Regions from separate parts of the Homo sapiens genome. Here region 2 is linked to region 1. The links are contacts of gene promoters, found by promoter capture Hi-C in blood cells and fetal thymus (Javierre and others, 2016). All regions are on one chromosome and are shown on one strand. Each heading gives the region's core, a stretch centred on a gene start or on the middle of the fragment in contact. The rest is flanking DNA. Distances are from core to core; before and after follow the strand shown. Region 1 holds the start of VPS26A (VPS26 retromer complex component A). Region 2 overlaps HK1 (hexokinase 1).

Region 1 (4,026 bases), core at 570-3,069:
AATCTTCTAAGTGAAAAAAACCATTTTTCACTTTTATTAATTAAAGATTTGCATTGTTTTTGCTGCTTTCTTTTCACAGTTCAAACAGACAACAATATCAGTGTTACTATAGTTATTTATTTTTTTTGAGATGGAGTCTCGCTCTGTCACCAGGCTGGAGTGCAGTGGCGCAATCTTGGCTCACTGCAATCTCTGCCTCCTAGGTTTAAGTGATCCTCCTGCCTCAGCCTACCGAGTAGCTAGGATTACAGACGTGCACCACCATGCCCCGCTGATTTTTGTATTTTTAGTAGAGACGGGGTTTCGCCATGTTGGCCAGGCTGGTCTCAAACTTCTGACCTCAAGTGATCCGTCCGCCTCGGCCTCTCAAAGTGCTGGAATTATAGACTGTGAGCCACCATGCCTGGCCCAAATATGTGCATTTAAAGCTACAAATTTTCCTTTTACACAGTGTCACTGCATTCCACAAATTTGATATGTTGTATTATTATCTTTTATTTCAAATTATTTTATTTTTATTATTTTTTATTTTTGAGACAGAGTCTTGCTCTGTCGCCCAGGCTGGAGTGCAGTGGCTCCATCTCGGGCACTGCAACCTCCGCTTCCCGGATTCAAGAGATACTCGTGTCTGACCTCAGGTGATCCACCTGCCTTGGCCTCCCAAAGTGTTGGGATTACAAGTGTGAGCCTCCGTGCCCGGCCTCAACTTATTTTTAAATTTCCATTGATCTCTTCTTTGACCTAGAGATTTGGAATTATGTTGCTTAATTTCCAATATTTCCGGAATTTTCTGGCTTGTTTGGGTTGATTTCTAATTTTAATTCTATTGCGGTTAGAGATGATACTCTGATTTCAATCCTCTTAAATTTGAGGCTCACACTGAGGATTAAGTATAAAAAAATTTTTTTTGATACCTGTTTCATGGACTCGCCTCACAAACTTCTGTTTTAAGGTGGGGTAATTATAGTGCGTTCAGGGATGGATTTTTCTTCTGCTTTGGTTATGCATAGAGTGCACTGTGGCCCTTCAACACTATACTCTGAAATCCCACACAGTATTTTCCTCATCTGGAGGTCCTATAGGCTTACACTAGGGAGGAGGATCCAGTTCAGGCCAGCGTAGTCTTCAGCTGCGCCGTGGGACTTTCGGGGGAGCGCCTTTGCCCTCTCAGAACGGCTGGGCGGAACGGTGGGTTTGTGAGCCCTCCAGGCTCAGGGTGGGTCGCTCAGGGGCCATCTGGGGACTTTGGGAAGCAATGAAAGTTGTACCCTAGGATTTTTTTCTACTGGTCTTCTCTTCAGAGGCGAGAAAGCCAAGTTAAGAAAACCCAGACTCAGAAGGAGGTGGAGCGGGACTGCGTTCAGGCAAGGTGGCAGAACGCCTCGCCGTGGACGAAGAGAGCACATCTCTTCTTGCGAGGCCTAAGGAAGTAGGGCTCCCACTCGCCTCGGCAACCCAAGGACCCAGCCAAGGAGAGAGCCTCCAGATGAATCCTTCCTCTCCTCCTTCCTTCCCAGCCGCTCAAACTTTCACAAAGAGGAACTGGGTGCGGTAAAGAGGCCGGACACGGAACCGCTCGTCCGGTGACCGAAGAGACGGCGAGGAGGAGCCCGCGAACCCGCCTCTGTTCAGGCCCCGCCCACTCGACGTAATTTGCCCGCCCCTCTCCACCCTCCGAAGGGTGGAGCCTGAGGCCCCGCCTCCAAGCGGCCTCTCCCCGGAGTGCCTGGCGGCCAGCAGGGCGGGGCAGGAGGCTGGGAGAGGGACGGGTGCGGGGGTGGGGGAGAGGAAGGGAGCGGTCACGTGTGAGGGGCGGCCCGAGGTCACGTGACGGAGCGCCGGAGCGGAGGGAGCCGGGGCTGGGAGTTCTCCTGAGGGAAGAGGAGTGGAGTAGGGGGGACGCGGCGGCGGCGTTGACAATGGTGAGTGCGCGGCGGCCAGCGCGCTCGCCTCCCGCCCTCGTCCCGGAGCGCGCGGCGGGCCGGCCAACCGCGGGCCGGGCGTCGCCGGAGGAGGGGACGGGGGAGCAGGGCGGGGAGCGGGGTTAGGCCTGTCGGGCCACCCCTGGGTCTGGGAAAAGCTGGCGGCGCCACCTCTTCCCGGTCTCGGCGAGGCCCGAGCACCTACGGGCGGCGGCGTGCTCTCCTGGCCATGTCGGAGCCTCTGCCCGCGTTCTTCGACTGCTTGTTGGGGCTCTGGCTGGGGACTCGGACCCCGCCTCTGCGGGGGCTGGTCGCCGCCTCCCCTTCCTAGGTAGCCAGTCCCTGTTCTCCTCCCGGGCAGCCTCTCTTCCATCCAGGTGGGGCGACCCGGGAGCCCCCCACCTCCGGACTCTTCGGGGGACTTGGGCACTCAGTGTGTCACGAACTTGATAAACTCTGATATTTTAAAACCTGACTATGGTGACATTCTTTGATTTCATGACCCCAGTTCAGGCTTTCTGTTGACACTTGTAAAATGGGAGAGAAAAATAAAAGGACGTTGGAATGGGGGATATCTTTAACTCCAGAGACACCCGTTTGGTGCCCGCCGTTTTAAGCATTGGCTCTCATTTCCGTCCGCAAGCTATTTCGCTGAACTTAACGCTCTGGGTTGTTGAAACGGCCTATGAGGCAGAGGAGGGAGGGGAATCAGTGCTCTCACCACAGTCCGCGGAAGCACTAGCCTGGGCATTGTGGTATTTAGCTGGGTGTCGGCAGTCTCTAGGTTAGATCTCATTTTACCCATTTTCTGGTAGTAGTCGTCAGTTCTCTTCATTTAGCGCCTACTGTATGCTCTCCTAATACTACCTGCTCTTCCCAAAGCTCACTGATTCAATAGACTGCTTGAGACTTTTGGCTTAAAAGGCCGAGCCAGGTATATTTTTAAAAAGCTACTTTGAATAAATAACTTTTAATTTCAGTAATGATGTTGCTTTCAAAACAAAACAAAACAAAATCCAGACATTCATGTTCATTCTTAGAGCTTTTTTTCTTTCATTCAACAAATAATTGCTCAGGTGTGCCTAGGGGACCCCAGTAAAATGGAAACAGCGCCTACCTGCTCTCGTAGCTTACAATGTAGGGAGAGATAAACATTTATTTGTGTAAATTATTTGTTTAACGTGGAAATTAGAATTGTGACAGATACTAAGAAGGAAGTATTGGGGGACCTTGCCTAGTCAGTGTTAGGGCAGGCTTCTTTAATTGAATATCATTTGAAAAGAAAACTTAAAAGGTCCTCCTATTTTTTGCTTACATTTGTAATTATTACTTTTAATACGCTTTTTTGAATTATGTTCAAGAGCAGTTTATATTTTCAAGTTACCCAAACAGAAACTAAATTGTAAAACTTTAAAACACTGAAATGGTCACAGATGTAATATATGTATGAAAATTTGCTGTTTCATTGCTTGTGTATGGGCTAAGTGAATGAATTTTGAGAGTCAGCCTTCCACCTCAGAAATGCAATGAGTTGCATTTCTTTACATCCACTGGACTTAGTGAAATTCCTTCAGTGGGGACTAAAAAGTTGCCTTTTTATGTATCTACCATGTATTTTTGCTAATTGGTAATGCTCAATATTGGGTTCAGAAATTATATGAAAAATCCTAAATTAACCTAAAGTCAGTGATAGGAGGTTTAGGCCAAGATTAGAAAACTATAAAAACAATTGCTAGCATGTTTTTATAGTCATATATATTGCAGTCCAGTTATTTAAAAGCTCAAGAGTTTTAACTTGCATATTAATAGTTAATCCTGAAAATCGCAATATTCCAAATGCGCCCTTGAAGATATCTTTACCAAAAGAAGTGAGTAGTATTTTTGCACTTAAAAGATCTCACGGGGTGCGGTGGCTCACACCTGTAATCCCAACAATTTGGGAGGCCGAGGTGGGCGGATCACCTTGAAGTCGGGAGTTTGAGACCAGCCTGGCCAACATGGCGAAACCCCGTCTTCACTAAAAATACAAAAACAAAAAAAAATTGGCCAAGTGTGGTGGCGCATTGCTGTAGTCCCACCTACTCGGGAGGCGGAAGTTGCCTGA
Region 2 (4,026 bases), core at 1,100-3,599, 220 kb after region 1:
TGGCCTCTCCCGGGATTTTAATCCAACAGCCACAGTCAAGATGTTGCCAACATTCGTAAGGTCCATTCCTGATGGCTCTGGTAAGTCTGTCACCCAGAGATTGAACCCTGAGGGCTAAATGTTCTGTGAAATCTTCCTTCTAACTTCATTTGTTCATACATTTGCTCATTCATTCATTCACCATTCCATCAATCTGCTCTCCCATCCATCCATCCATCCATCCGCTGATCCATCTGCTGATCCATCCATCCATCCATCCATCCGCTGATCCATCCATCCAATATGTGTCTACTGAGACCTTATGCCAGTCACTGGGGATACCATGGTTGGGCAAGGCTGACCTGCTGTCATTGACTTTACTGTCTAGTGGCTTGTGATACTTTAGAAAGTGTAGTGTTTATGGGTCTCGCAGATACTGTGTGGGTTGCTCTTATGTCTTCAGAACATGAAGAACTCCAGAACAAATGAAGGGTTCATTTTAGGGAAATCTCTCCATCAGGGAATCAAAGCTTCCCTCTCTTCTTATCCCAGATAATAGCAATCCTAATGGACAGGTGGGTCTCAGACTTAAAGGCAGAGATTCCAGACCCCCTTTGGACAGATTTCACAGATGCAGAATTGAGGCAGCCCCCAAAACAAAGAAATACAGAGGGGAGGTAGAATTGAAAGAAAAATTGTATCCTTTCACTCTGCATCCTGTGGCTCATACCCTGCAGTGGGGCGTTGGGGGAGGGCCCCCTGAGGATTGTCTGTTTCTCCTCCCCAGAGGAGTGGTATCAGCCCCTGCACCTGGCTGAGCGGAGACTGAGAAGTCGCAGTCTGGCCTGCTCAGTGGAAGCTGTTCTTCCCGGCAGACCCGCAGTTACTAGTTTGTGGAGGTGAATGCTGTGCTTGCTCCAGCGTGGCGCCCTCACAGGAATCCCCTGTTAGCTGTGTTCTGTGCTCTAGGGTGGGGCTCACCTGCTGTAGGCAGCAGAGGGAGGGAGAGCAGGAGGAAGTCAGGTTTCCCTTGGGGTTGTGAGTACACGACCAGTGAGTACAGCTTTCACACACCCCTGCGATTTCTTCCCTGCTCTCGAGGCTCTTATTTAAAGGAGTGATTTGGGGCATCTTGTATGCAGCCTGCAAAATGGACGCCAGGAAACTGCAGCTGTTGCAACTGATGTTCTTGAAAGATGGGCAAGTGGGAGTAGGCTGGTTGCAGCAGGAAAAGACCTCTGCTCTCTGCCTGCAGTCATCCTGAATGAGATTTGGACGCTGATAAAGAGGCCTTGTGCTGTTCACTGTGGCCACGGGTGGGGTCTACTTCATGCTCACATATTAGCATGTATATCTCTGATGTAAGCCTACTCCACCTCCACCCTTTTGTTTAGGTGTTGATTACTAGCACCTACTTCTAGCTTTTTAAGAACTACTGAAGAGATTCTGGCCATCAGAGTGAATAGACTGTGGTCTACCCTGGGTGTGTTCGCTTGTCTCTGGCTGGAGAAGAAAGAACTTTATATATAGTTCACTCTTGCTTTTTCCCAGCCATGGATGTCACCTACAGCCAGGAGCACTGGAACCTTTCCAGGATGAGGAGAGCTATGTAGCAGAGGCATGGCTCTGACTGCTTCCAGCTGAGAGAAGAGGAAGGAGCGGGGAGGGGAGGGGGTATGGGCAGCACCCAGGAGAGCACCTGCTTTGGCTTTGCTTGGGAGAGCTCAGAAGGCTACCTGATCCCTGCGAGGCACCTGGCCCTGTGTGACTGGCTCAGGGCAGACACAGGGGAGGAGACACTTTGCCTCCTACCCACTGGGCCCTGCTCTCAAGCCAGCTGTGTCCCAGGGACCTATGTCAGCAGGGGTGCTCTCCCTCTCCTTCACAAACTGTTTCCAGGATTGAGAGTCTCAAGGTGTGATCCAAGTGCAGTAGAAATCCAGCCATTTGCCATATTGGCTACTCCTCCAAACAAGGCTTAGAACTCATACTCATTTGTGAAATGTATTTTTCACCCCCTTTTAGAGATTCATAGAAACGGCACCCCCCCATTCCAAATATTTATGGGTGGGTTCAGTTCATGTGCCCCAGAGCCCACACTTCGCTTGCAATGGTCCCTACAGCCCCGCAAAGACATTGCTGTTGATGCTAAGGACTTGGATACCCAACCCCCAGTCCACTTCCTGCCCCTTCGTGTTGTGCCGGGCTTCTGTCTTCACCTCCCCCTGCCTCTTGGCTCCTTTATCATCCAAGAATCAGGAGATCCCTGCAGTAATCAGAATCTGGGTCTCTTAATAGTAAATCCATAGTGCTGTTCCCTTTTTGAAATGTTAATCACTGCTTCAACTGTAGTAATTAGTGACAGAATTAGTGGTAATCCCAAACCACGGAGGGATAAATTGGCGCTCACCATGGTGGAGCAATGCCTAAGTGGTGATGTGATTTCCAAGGCAAAGGAAGGAAACAAGCCTTTCCTTTCTTGCTGACCTTGACCCTGGTCGACTAGACACAGAGTTTTGGAACTCAACTGACTTTCCAGAAGCATTTCTGAAAACATATCTGATACATACATTCTGATACCTATCAGCCCATTTTTAATTAGTTTCTTTCTTTTTTGGTCATTTTTTTTTTAATGGGCAGTGAGGTTTTTGTTTTTGGTATTTTGTAGAGATAGGGTTTTGCCATGTTGCCCAGACTGGTCTTGAACTCCTAGGCTCAGGCGATCCTCCCACCTCCCAAAGTGCTGGGATTACAGGCGTGAGCCACCTCACCTGGCCTGTTTTTATTTTTATTTTTTAGTTGTTCTTCAATAATCTGTATATCATTAAAAAAACCCCAAAAACCTAAAGTGGCTTTTTGCTGCTGCATATCATTTTTGAGGTAGTGGATGAATGAATAATAAAGAAGGAAAATATTGAAGCCTCTTAACATTGGTGATTTGGCTAAATAGAATTCCCTCTTCAAAGCTACTGTAGGGAGCAAGGGAAAACGTCCCCTTTGCCCTCTGAATGTTGGCTGAAAAATCAGCTCACAAAAGGCAGATTAATAGGAGAAAGGGCATACACATTTATTAACATGCATGTGGGAGAATCACAGACTGATTACTCAAGTATCCCGGTGGGGCCCAGATACTTACATTTCCTCTTTTCTTTTCCTTTTTTTTTTTGAGATGGAGTCTTGCTCTGTTGCCCAGGCTGGAGTGCAGTGGCACGATGGTTCAAGCGATCCTCCTGCCTTAGCACCCCCTACGTAGCTGGGATTATAGGCACCTGCCACCATGCCCAGCTAATTTTTGTATTTTTAGTAGAGACGGGGTTTTGCCATGTTGGCCAAGCTGGTCTCGAACTCCTGACCTCAGGTGATCCACCCGCCTCGGCCTCCCAAAGTGCTGGGATTACAAGTGTGAGCTACTGCGCCCGGCCACACATTTCCTCTTTTCAGAGGGGAGGCAGGAGACAGGGAACAGTAAATGATTACTAGGGAGAATGAAGATATCAGGGAACAGAGATTAACCAGTACCGGTTCTCTTTGGAAATTGAATAGGAGACAGATTTTTTTTTTTTTTTTAAGACAGTCTCGCTCTGTCGCCCAGGTTGCAGTGCAGTGGCATGATCTCGGCTCACTGCAACCTCCGCCTCCCGGGTTCAAGCAATTCTCCGGCTTCAACTTCCTGAGTAGCTGGGATTACAAGTGCGCACCACCACGCTGGGCTAATTTTTGTATTTTTAGTAGAGACGAGGTTTCACCATGTTGGCCAGACTGGTCTCGAACTCCTGACCTTGTGATCTGCCCGCCTTGGCCCCTCAAAGTGCTGGGATTACAGGTGTGAGCCACCACGCCCGGTTTAGGAACAGACATCTTTAAAAAGGTCCATTCAGGTGTGGTCAGATTCTTCAGTCTTCTTTTCTGCAATAGATAATGAGATAACAGGGAGGGTAAGGATAAAGTTCTCCTTGGAGGGTCTGCGTGGTCTTTATGCAGATAGGAGAAAAGCATTTTCCAGCATCTGTTGATCTTTAAGGGCCTTTAGTTCAAAATACTCATTAT

Evidence for each region. The method cuts DNA at HindIII sites, captures the fragments that hold promoters and counts their contacts. A CHiCAGO score of 5 or more calls a contact.
Region 2: a contact is called between a fragment that was not itself captured here and the fragment with the promoter of VPS26A in region 1, in 1 of 17 cell types (monocytes). The highest score is 5.7, in monocytes.

What each region holds. Positions count from the first base shown.
Region 1 is chr10:69,122,359-69,126,384 of GRCh38, forward strand. VPS26A (VPS26 retromer complex component A) reads left to right here and starts at 1,820. Exons shown (of 9, transcript NM_004896.5): 1 at 1,820-1,922. The coding sequence starts at 1,920. RefSeq lists enhancers at 1,054-1,413, 2,278-2,784 and a silencer at 1,674-2,073. The HindIII fragment of the contact is 9,705 bases long and covers 1-4,026 here.
Region 2 is chr10:69,343,910-69,347,935 of GRCh38, forward strand. It overlaps HK1 (hexokinase 1), which reads left to right. Exons shown (of 18, transcript NM_000188.3): 2 at 1-80. Among named protein-coding and RNA genes, the nearest start is that of HK1, 27 kb to the left of the region's middle. RefSeq lists an enhancer at 1-361 and a silencer at 966-1,095. The HindIII fragment of the contact is 3,685 bases long and covers 508-4,026 here.